4 separate regions of the Homo sapiens genome follow, and all the other regions are linked to region 4. Evidence: promoter capture Hi-C in 16 types of primary human blood cells and fetal thymus (Javierre and others, 2016). All regions are on one chromosome and are shown on one strand. The core of a region is centred on a gene start or on the middle of the fragment in contact, and the rest is flanking DNA. Distances in the headings are between cores, read along the strand shown. Region 1 holds the start of KRTAP2-1 (keratin associated protein 2-1). Region 2 holds the start of KRT39 (keratin 39). Region 3 holds the start of KRTAP1-4 (keratin associated protein 1-4). Region 4 has its middle 9.3 kb from the start of KRT17.

What was found. Contacts are between HindIII fragments. The CHiCAGO score rates a contact against its expected background, and 5 or more counts as called.
Region 1: a contact is called between the fragment with the promoter of KRTAP2-1 here and a fragment that was not itself captured in region 4, in 5 of 17 cell types (total CD4 T cells, activated CD4 T cells, naive CD8 T cells and 2 more). The highest score is 9.0, in total CD4 T cells.
Region 2: the fragment with the promoter of KRT39 here is called in contact with a fragment that was not itself captured in region 4 in 1 of 17 cell types (non-activated CD4 T cells); the score reaches 7.3 in non-activated CD4 T cells.
Region 3: a contact is called between the fragment with the promoter of KRTAP1-4 here and a fragment that was not itself captured in region 4, in 5 of 17 cell types (total B cells, non-activated CD4 T cells, total CD4 T cells and 2 more). The highest score is 6.1, in total B cells.

What each region holds. Positions count from the first base shown.
Region 1 is chr17:41,045,835-41,048,848 of GRCh38, reverse strand. KRTAP2-1 (keratin associated protein 2-1) reads left to right here and starts at 1,533. Exons shown (of 1, transcript NM_001123387.1): 1 at 1,533-2,308. The coding sequence starts at 1,582. The coding sequence ends at 1,968. The HindIII fragment of the contact is 11,978 bases long and covers 1-3,014 here.
Region 2 is chr17:40,965,529-40,968,457 of GRCh38, reverse strand. It overlaps KRT39 (keratin 39), which reads left to right and starts at 1,510. Exons shown (of 7, transcript NM_213656.4): 1 at 1,510-2,069. The coding sequence starts at 1,602. The region is part of intron 1 of LOC107985072 (a long non-coding RNA gene); the gene reads right to left. The HindIII fragment of the contact is 5,044 bases long and covers 1-2,929 here.
Region 3 is chr17:41,028,594-41,031,535 of GRCh38, reverse strand. It overlaps KRTAP1-4 (keratin associated protein 1-4), which reads left to right and starts at 1,341. Exons shown (of 1, transcript NM_001257305.2): 1 at 1,341-2,185. The coding sequence starts at 1,458. The coding sequence ends at 1,823. RefSeq lists an enhancer at 1,702-2,251. The HindIII fragment of the contact is 2,506 bases long and covers 185-2,690 here.
Region 4 is chr17:41,632,463-41,635,299 of GRCh38, reverse strand. It overlaps the pseudogene KRT42P. Among named protein-coding and RNA genes, the nearest start is that of KRT17, 9.3 kb to the right of the region's middle. The HindIII fragment of the contact is 4,882 bases long and covers 1-2,837 here.

The sequences.
Region 1 (3,014 bases), core at 284-2,783, 590 kb after region 4:
TCCGTAAACAAAGAAAAGAATGTAAAACAGGAGAGTCAAAGGTCTCTAGCGATGAGATTGTGCCTGATATCTCCCTCTTCTGTTTCCCTAATTGTGACTACCGGGTCCAGTCAATTTACATTCCTCTTAAAGTTTTGAAATTATGCTTGAAATTCCATTTGGGGAGCTTTAGATGTCCGGCCCCAAGGCACATTCTTTCAAATAAAGAAAATGATCCCGAAGTGATTCAAAACCCTGTCTGGTGACTAACAGGAGGAGTAAAGCTGGAAAGTAATGGGACTGTTTCCCCCATGTAGTTCCTGAACTGCCCCTGGCAACACTTCCTGAAGAAGCGCATCCATCACGCTTTTAGCAGTGCCACAGCAGAACACTGGGCAGCCTCCCAATGCGTCTACCCCTGAACAGTGTTCTGGATATGTGTGCAATGTTGGTTGAAAACCCCTTTCTTGTCACTTGCTAATCAGAGCACCTATGTCAAAGTATATATGCATATTTCTTTTTTGAGATGGAGTCTCACTCTGTAGCCCAAGCTGGAGTGCAATGGCATGATCTCGGCTCACTGCAACCTCCGCCTTTGGGGCTCAAGTGATTCTCGTTCCCCAGCCTCCGGCACAGCTGGGACTACAGGCACTGCCACCACACCCAGCTAATTTTTTGTATTTTATTAGAGTTGAGGTTTCACCATGTTGCCCAGGGTGGTCTTGAACTCCTGAGCTCAGGTGATCCACCTGCCTTGGCCTCCCCAGGTGTTGGGATTACAGGCATGAGCCACTGCGCCCGGCCAACAAGGTATATTCAGAAAAATTTCCCATTACAGAATTCTTCATTACATGCACAAGAAAGGCAACGCTAAAAAATGACATGTTTCAGAGATAAAAATCAGCATCTTATGACAGAAAGACCAGAGTTGCACAGAACCTGAACTAGAGAAAAGAAAACATGCAAGGCAGTCTTGGAGGTTTTATTCCAACACTTAGTGGTTTGCAAAAATTTTTGTCTGTCCTGTACAACTCTATGAGCTGCTATCCTATTCAAGGCCTATGTATCCCACTATATCAAGTGATAATCAAACGTATTCCCAAGCAGACTACGTGGGAGGGCTTGTCTAACACTCGTGTGATTCACGTTTCACATGTAGGTGCTTCCAAGGACTTGAGTCCCCTATTGGGGTCAGGATAGGCTCTACTCAATGTTCTATGTACTTCTCTATGTTTTTAATTTCTTTTAAAAACTGAAGTTTTTTTAGACCGTTTTGTCCAGATTTGATCCAGTGTTATCTACTCAAAATAAGCATCAAGAGCTACTATCACCTCAAATGACGATGAGTTCTTAGATTTTCACCCAATGTGAGTACATCCATACTTAGAGATAAAACAAGAGCTCTTTAGTGAGATAATGAGTGTGTCACAAGCAACCATTAGTCAAAACAAAATTCTACTTAATTGGCCAAAAGGTAAACGAAAAGGGTCACCTGCACCCGGCCAGGGTATATAAAGGGCCCAGAGGGGGAGGAGGACATTCACACCTGAGAACATCCAGCTCCTCTCCACAGCCCAACCCACACCAGCCTCAGACACCACCATGACCGGCTCCTGCTGCGGCTCCACCTTCTCCTCCCTGAGCTACGGGGGAGGCTGCTGCCAGCCCTGCTGCTGCCGCGACCCCTGCTGCTGCCGCCCCGTGACCTGCCAGACCACCGTGTGCCGCCCCGTGACCTGCGTGCCCCGCTGCACGCGCCCCATCTGCGAGCCCTGCCGCCGCCCGGTGTGCTGCGACCCCTGCTCCCTGCAGGAAGGCTGCTGCCGCCCCATCACCTGCTGCCCCTCGTCGTGCACGGCTGTGGTGTGCAGGCCCTGCTGCTGGGCCACCACCTGCTGCCAGCCTGTGTCTGTGCAGTCCCCCTGCTGCCGGCCCCCCTGCGGCCAGCCGACCCCTTGCAGCACCACCTGCAGGACCTCCTCCTGCTGAGCCACCACCTGCTGCCAGCCTGTGTCTGTGCAGTCCCCCTGCGGCCAGCCGACCCCTTGCAGCACCACCTGCAGGACCTCCTCCTGCTGAGCAGTGCACTGACTGCCCGGAACGCGTAACTCACCTTCTGAAAAAGTCACACTCCCATTTCTCTACTTTAACAAACCTCCTGCCCTGAGCCCACAAAACCCCACATCAACCAAGCAGGGAACCGAGCACTGGGCTCATCTATTAAGACCTGGGCCATTCTGAAGTCTGTAAAAGAAGCAATTTCCTTCTTCTTAAGATTTCGTGGCATGTTTATTTTCTAATAAATATCTGTTCTTTGGCCTTGCAAAAAGATTTGGTTTTATTTACTCATTCTAATATTTTGTATTAAATTAATTTTTTAATTAAAAAAACTGACACATAATTGTACATATTTATGGGGTGCAATGTAATGTTTCCATACATGTATACGTTGTGTAATAATCAAGTCAGGGTGTTTAGCATATTCGTCACCTCATACATTTATCATTTCTTCATGGTAAGATCATTTAAAATATTCTCTGATCGCTATTTTGAAATATATGATAAAATATTACTAACCACAGTCACCCTACTGTACATTAGAATACCAAAACTTATCCCTCCTATCTACCTGTAACTTTGTACCTGTAGACCAATCTCTGCCTATCCTCCCCTCCTCTCACCCTCCCCAGCCTCTGGTAGTCACTATTCTACTCTCTACTTCTATGAGATCAACTTCTTTAGATTTCACATAGGAGTGAGTGAATGTGCTATTTGTCTTTCTGTGCCTGGTTAATTTCACTTAACATAATGTCCCCCAGGTTCATCCATGTTGCTGCACATGACAGTATTTCATTCTTTTTCATGGCTGATAGTATTTCATTGTGTGTTTGGGTGTGAGTGTGTGTCACATTTTCTTTATCCATTCATCCATTGATGAACACTTAGATTGTTTTCATATGTTGGCTGTTGTGAATCGTGCTGCAATAAACATGGAAGTGCAGAAATCTCCTCAACATACTGATTTCATTTCCTTT
Region 2 (2,929 bases), core at 261-2,760, 670 kb after region 4:
CAGCAATCCTATTACTTGATACATACCCAAAGGATTATAAATCATTCTACTATAAAGACACATGCACATGTATGTTTATTGCAGCACTATTCACAATAGCAAAGACATGGAACCAACCCAAATGCCCATCAATGATGGACTGGATAAAGAAAATGTGGCACATATACACCATGGAATACTATACAGCCATAATAAAGGATTAGTTCATGTCCTTTGCAGGGACATGAATAAAGCTGGAAACCATCATTCTCAGCAAACTCACACAGGAACAGAAAACCAAACACTGCATGTTCTCACTCATAAGTGGGAGTTGAACAATGAGCACACATGGACACAGGGAGGGGAACATCACACCGGGGACTGTGAGGGGGTGAGGGGCTAGGGGTGGGATAGCATTAGGAGAAATACCTAATGTAGATGACAGGTTGATGGGTACAGCAAACCACCATGGCACTTGTATACCTATGTAGCAAACCTGCACGTTCTGCACATGTATCCCAGAACTCAAAGTACAAAAAATCTCATAATTCAAGAAAAAAAAAAAAGGATGAAAAGGGGCCACTAGCTGAGGATGTGGACAGCCTGTAGAAGCTGGAAAAGGCAAGAAAATGATGTTCCCCTAGAGCCTCCATAAAGGATTAGCAGCAAGTAACTTTCTGAAGAAAATGCTGAGTAAGTATTCCTCAGAAAGAAAACACACCCCTTTCAATGAATCCTATTTAAACATCCAGTATAAACCAACACTGTGATACATTTTTATCTAATGTAATACCACAAGCAAACACCAAGCACTAAAAATGTTATAAAATGTGGACTTTGGAAAACCAAAAGAGAGCTAGTCTCTTTTCCAAGAAATTTCTTATTAGCAATCAAACCCTACCTTTTCCCCATGGCTTTTATTTTATTTCATATTTTATTTATATTTTATTTTATGTTATTACATTTTATGGAAAGCTAAAACATAAATCTAGCAATTATCTTTAAAACAAGACTTTTAAAAGACTAACATTTTAATTCATACTCACATTGTCCTGACACTGAAAATGGGGAAACCATTTGGGCAGAACAAACTAAAATATTGACTTCTGATTTCTAAGTTTACCAATAATTATTAAACATTAATAGTTTCCCTTTTCTAGAGAAGAAAGGAAAAGAAGGATGAACTCATTCCTGGTTAAGCTCAGTGCCAAGTGGAGAGGTCAACAAGAATGTAATGAACTTAGTATACTCACACCTGCTTAATAATGGATGCTGTTAGGACAGTTCCTTTTGAAGACATAATTTGAAGCTCTGGGTCCAATAGACAAGTAGTAGTTATGATGGGTAATAACTTACTAACAGCCTAAATGCACATGTTTATGAGACAAATAACTCTTCTTAAGCAAGTAAAAAGCAGACTAATAAGATGTTCCTACAGGATTTGATATAAACCTGAGAAAGGAAAACATCCCACCTGTGTGACACCACGTAGAAGAGAGGCTATATAAGCACTTCAAAGAGGAAAACACCAAGAGCCTTGGAATTCAGACTCTGTGGAGGTGGCTTGAGCTTTTCATCCTGGTGACCACAGACCTGGAACAAACTAAAGCCAGACACATACTATGGACACCAAGGGCTGTACAACAACCAATTCTCCTTCAACCCCATGTCAAAACTGCTCTAGGATTACAAATGTTAGTACCATCTCTTCTAACAACGGCTGCCATCCTGGTGGCCTTACAGTCAACAACTGTCAACCAGCTGGCCACGTTCTCAGAATTCCCTGGGACCAGGGCTGCCAACCCACTCCTCGCTTTTGTCGCAAGCCCATCTACCTAATGAACAACTTCAATGCCCGTTTTTCTCTGGATGACTGCAGCTGGTATGGTGAAGGCATCAACAGTAATGAGAAGGAGACCATGCAAATCTTGAACGAGCGCCTTGCTAACTACCTGCAAAAGGTGCGAATGCTAGAACGAGAGAATGCTGAACTGGAATCTAAAATCCAGGAAGAAAGTAACAAAGAGCTCCCTGTTCTATGTCCTGATTACCTGTCTTACTACACTACCATTGAGGAGCTCCAGCAGAAGGTAAGATTCCTAAGAACCTGTTTAATCGTGTTGTGAATTAATGGTTTCCAAGCAACAGTTATTTGCTAAACTTTAATATTTTTTGTTCAGTTGATGCTGAAAATTTTTTTGAAGAATAGAAAAATTTCTTGAGTGAAATTGTCATCTTGAGGCAGCATTCAGAGTCTGATAGTATTTCTGGTCAGGCGCAGTGATGCACACCTGTAATCCTAACACTTTGGGAGGCTGAGGCAGACAGATCACTTGAGCCCAGGAGTTCTAGACCATCCTGGGCAACATGATGAAATTCCATCCTTACACACACACACACACACACACACATACACACACAAAAAAAAATTAGATGGGCGTGGTGGCACATGCCTGTGGTCCCAGCTACTTGGGAGGCTGAGGTGGGAGGATCACTTGAGCCCAAGAGGTTGAGGCTGCCATGAGCCAAGATCCTGCCACTGCACTCCAGCCCAGACAAAAGTGAGACTATGTCTTTAAAAATCAGAAACAAAAAGAAGAGTCTCATGGTGTTTCCTTTCTCCAGAAATACACTCTACCATTATAACTAGATGACTCAGGACCAAAAGATGTTAACAGCAAGTTGTTGCCATTTTTTAAATAAAAATAGGGAAACAGAGATCAGAGAAAATAAATTTTGCTTTAATGAGTTTCTAAGCAATTTAGTTTTTATCCATTTTTCAACCATCACCACCTTTTTCTCCTTTTATGCTTATGTTATCATCTCCACATTGCTTGGTTTGTTTCTACACCAAACCTAAGTTTGTTATGCACAGACGTATTCTGCTACTACATATCTGGATTTATTCAGTTTTATTCATTCAACAAATGTTTACTGAGCAGCAACAACA
Region 3 (2,942 bases), core at 92-2,591, 600 kb after region 4:
TTAGATTTTTTGCCCATTTTTCAATTACGTTATTTGTTTTCTTACTACAGGTATTGAGTTGTTTGAGTTTCCTCTATACTTTGGATATTAACCCTTTATCAGATATGTGGTTTATAAATATTTTCTCCCATTCAGCGGTTTGCGTCTTCACTCAGTTTAGTGTTTTATTGGCTGTGCAGAAGCTTTTTAGTTTGATGTAATCCCACTTGTCTATTTTTGCTGATGCTTTTGGATTCATGTTCACAATATCACAATATTGGCCAGGCAAAAGTCATGGAGTTTCCTCTGTTTTCTTCTTATAGTTTTATCATTTTGAGTCTTTCTTACATTTCAGTCTTTTAATCCATTCTAAGTTGGTTTTTGTATATAATGTGAGACAATGGTCTAATTTCATTTCTTCTGAATGTGAATGTGGTCAAATGATTTTCAACAAGGGTGACAAGACTATTTACAAATGGTTAAGATGGTTAATGTAAATGGTTCATAAATTTTATGGTATGTATATTTTACCACAATTAAAAATTTGTAACTATAAACATGTGTAGGAGACCCAAACTTTTCTGAAATAGAAGATATATATGTATATATGCTGGTTTATATTTGCAGAAGCAAGGATAAAGGTGTCAAAGAATGTGCACCAAATTCTTAATATTGATTACCTCTAGAGCATTAGTTTTGGAAGAGATGTGTGCATCTTCCAGGAAGGGAAAAGACACTAATTTTTCTTTATATACCTCTGTACTCTTTGACTTGTTACAATGTGTACTCATTACTAGCACATATGTTTAATTTAATAGAGTCAGAAAACAATCTACAAGCAAAAGTCATTAAAGATTTTAGTTAGCAATTTGTACATTCACTATTACTGAAGGCAAGAATATTAGATAGAGCTCTGAGGATCCTATAACTTGCACAAATTGATCATAGAAAGGCATACTTGGTTTGAAAGTTGATACATCAGGTTGTAGTTCATGTTTTGATGACACTAATGTTAGTCTTTCCAAGTCTGGACAAATTGTTTATAAAATCATGATCATAGTTAAGTGACCATTTAAGGAAAAATGATCAGTTAAGATAAATTCTGCCTAAAGGTTATCAAAGGACAACTATGACAAAACGTGCCAGGGCGACACTTGGCTCAAGGCTAGTCTGTCATGTGACTTGCATAAAGAGGCACTTCGGTGCTTGGCTTCCATGATGAGCCTTCACTTCGCCCAGAGGGCAAAGAAGAAACATAATGAGACTTAATTGTACAATGGAAAAAGGCTATTGAAATGCTATTTATAACTTTATAAACACCTCAGGTATTAGCCAGAGACTCACACTGAAATTGACATCAAGAAAAGGTGTTGGGTAAATATGCAGCTCTAGGGAACATATCAAAGGACAGATATAGAAGGTACAGCCCAAACTCAGAAACCTCTCTTAACACAGCTCTCAACCCAACTCCTGACACCATGGCCAGCTGTTCCACCAGTGGGACCTGTGGCTCCAGCTGCTGCCAGCCAAGCTGCTGTGAAACTAGCTGCTGCCAGCCAAGCTGCTGCCAGACCAGCTCCTGCGGAACCGGCTGTGGCATTGGTGGTGGCATTGGCTATGGCCAGGAGGGCAGCGGTGGATCTGTGAGCACCCGTATCAGGTGGTGCCACCCAGATTGCCACGTGGAGGGCACCTGCCTGCCCCCCTGCTACCTGGTAAGCTGCACACCCCCATCCTGCTGCCAGCTGCACCACGCCGAGGCCTCCTGCTGCCGCCCGTCCTACTGTGGACAGTCCTGCTGCCGCCCAGCCTGCTGCTGCCACTGCTGTGAGCCCACCTGCTAAAAGCCAGGTTGCTGATCGCTTAAGAATGAAAGGGGAAGCACAGCAAAATTGTGCTGATTTCTGAAGAACTGTTCGATTTTACTTGGATGCTAAGTACCATGATGTTGTTAAGCTGCTCAGAGATAATGAAACTCCTAGTTAGGACACTGTGGATGTGCCGAATTCACTTACTGAAAGATGTATCAATCAGTGTTCTGGATAGCTTGCGTTGCTTGAGCAGAGGACCAGGATGGAATAGTTCATCATTTCAGTGACATCTCTGCTCCCCCAACTCTCTCTTGATGCTCATGCATCTTCAGACCTGGTTTTTCCTTGAATATCTCTGATTAATCCAAATAAAATGTTTTAATGTGCAAAGCAAACTGAGTTATGTCCTCCTTCTACCTTTAAACATGTCTTCTTGTAGCTGGTATTCAAGAGTGGATTTGCAATTTGATAATAATACCAAGGCATAACCATAAAGTCTAAACCAGAAAGATTAAATACAAAGTAAATTATGCTTGAATCCATCAGCTTAAAAATGCTCCATGAATTAAAGAATTTTTATAGTTCAAATATTTACATGCTCTAATCTATTATGATTAGGTCTAGACCAATAAAGGTTGACCTTTAGCTAAAATGTTAAGGTTGATCAAAGCTATTGATTTCTATCTAAATGTAATTCTACCATCTTTTGTCTCCTTCCATTTAATATACTAAATGTTCTCCTTCATTTATGCCCCAAAATCTAAAGAAATTGCATTACCTTCTAAATAGATTTAAAAATAGCTACTAGATACTACCTATTTTCCAAGAGAATTTAGGTTTAATTTCTACACCTTAGCCTTTCACATTCTTCCCACTGATCCTTGAATTGCTCTCTAAGCTTCAACTCCCACTATTCACCTTCATTTGATGTACGTATGCATAAGGTGTATCTTTGGTCTAAATGATAGTAGAAGAAACAGCTATAGAGAGCACCCGCTGAGTTCTACCATTGCCATTTGTCAGACAGAAGTGTTAGAAATCTGAAACAGCTCGATTATATTTTGCACTTTGCAACCCAACTTAAAAGATATTCTCTTAAGAAGTTAACACGCTGGACACGGTGGCTTACGCCTGTAATCCCAGCACTTTGGG
Region 4 (2,837 bases), core at 82-2,581:
TGCTCAGGTTCGGGTGAGGAGGGAGGCTGCCCTAACCCTTTGGCCTCAGACCCCTGCTCCCAGCCCCACCTCTGCTTCCTGTTTTGTTAGAGCCTTACTGACGTCATTATCTCTCCAGATTCCCTCAAAGACTTTGGGAGACAAGACTTGGTCCCCCTTTTACAAACGAGGGAACGGAGGCTCTAGAACTGACTTCCTGAAAGGCTTGGATCCAAAGCTCCCTCAGTTCAGCGGCCACGTCTATTTCCCTCAGACACAGGGATCCTTGAACCTGTGGGCTGTATCTCCCCGCGGACTTGGAAGAATCCCAAGAGAGTGGGGCTCCCACAGGTCAGAGGCTAATTCTGCCTCCTCTGACTGGGAGTCTCCACCAGGGCCACGTTGTACCTGGGCAATGATGTCAGGCCCCGATCTCTCCACCCTTACCCCAGGGCCCTGGAATGCTGGGTGAGGGGCCAGGCCAGCCTCCGGCTCCTGGCCTGTGCAGCCTTGTCCTGTGCCCGTGCTGGCTCCCAGGGCTGGGTTCTCCGGGCTCCCCACAAGAATAAGCTCAGCCTCCTAACTGTGGCTGAGGATGGAGGGTCACCCTACCCCAGGGCTACAGACCAGCACCACCTTTGTTTCTTTCTTTCTTTTTTGAGACAGATTTTTACTCTTGTTGCCCAGGCTGGAGTGCAATGGTGTGATCTCGGCTCACTGCAACCTCCACCTCCCAGGTTCAAGCTATTCTCCTGCCTCAGCCTCCTGAGTAGCTGGGATTACAGGTTCGTGACACCACGCCCAGCTAATTTTTGTATTTTTAGTAGAGATGGGGTTTTGCTATGTTGGCCAGTCTGGTCTCAAACTCCTGACCTCAGGTGGTTCACCTGCCTCTGCCTCTCAAAGTGCTGGGATTACAGGCGTGAGCCACCGTGCCTGGCCACCACCTTTGTGTCTGAACAGACCGCTGAGGCCCTGGTGCTCAGGCTGGGCTCTTGCTATGGAGGGGTCCTTGGGGAGGCTCTCAATATGTCCAGCCTGAGCCCCAGGCCCTGGGTGGGTGGGAGGAGGCAAAATACACTCCTGGGGTTTTGGCCTGAACTTCAAGGGCCAGGGTCCCAGCCCCACTTCAGCCCGGCTGTAACGGGCTACCCAGGGTCTCCATCCAGACCAGACTCTTCACCCGACCCATGGACACCCTGGTTGTCACCACTACCAGCATCTGCCAGTTCTCCACCTCTGGCTCTGTCAAGGGCCTGTGGACACCTGGCGGGGGTTTCTCCTGGATGTCATCTGTCAGTGTTGGGGGTGCCTTTCGCCAGCCTCCTGGGAGTCAGCAGCTGTGGCAACATGTCGGTCACCTCCTCCTGCTTCTTGGTGGGACTTGGGGGAGGCTACAGCGGTGGCTACACCTGTAACCTGGGTGGGGGCTTTGGCTCCAGCGTTGACGTGGCGGATGCCCTGCTGCGGGGGCGGTGAAAAGACCATGCAGAACCTTACTGACCACACACACAGCACACACATACACACAAACACCACACACAACCACACACACACATACACACACACAAACACCACACACACCACACACACCATCACACACATACACACAAACACCACACACACACCACACACGTACACACACAAACACCACACACACCCCACACACATCACACACATACACACACAGAAACACCACACACACACCACACACAGCACACACGTACACACACACAAACACCACACACCATACACATCACACACTACCCCAAACGCCACGCGCCCCACTCACACCTCACACTCCCAGATTCACACACAGGCGCATGCCCACCGATCGATACACACACACTAAAAGACTCCTATATACACATTCACACATAGCTCACAGGCACATCCACATACACACATACTACATACACACACACATACCACACACCTACACATATACCCACCACACCCCCAACACCCCCTCCACACATATTAGTCACACACCCCCCCAAACCCCCCACACCCTCTCCAACACATATACACACCCACCCAAACATACCACACACCACACACACACTCATACACATCACACACTACACAAACATCACACACATACACACCACACACACCACACATACACGCGCACGTACACGCACACACACCACACACACACCACACACATCAGAGACACACAGCACACACACATCACACACATATACACACACAAACACCACACAGACCATACACATACACACATACACGCCACACACACATCACGCACACACCACATATACATCACAGACACACGCAAACACCACACACACACTCCAAACACATCACACACATACACAAACACCACACACACCACACACATACTCACCATACACACCATAGATACATCACACACACACTCACCACACACACCACACACACATACACATACACACAGACACCACACACACACCCCACACCACACATGCCACACATATTCCACACGCACCACACACATACACACTACACACACACCATACACATATATACCCACAACCACCCATGTACCACACACCACACACACCACACGCATATACACACCACACACACAATACACACAGATCTCACACACACATACACACCACACACACATATACACCACACCACATGCATACCACACACCACACACACCACATACACACATACTACATACACATAAACACCACACACATCACACACCACACACCACACACACATCACACACCACACACACACACACATACACACACACTCTCTCTCATGACCTCTAAGAACATGGCTTTGGCATTCTGTAAACATGGCCACTTTGTCTTCTGCACAAACCCTGCCCTGGAGGGTCC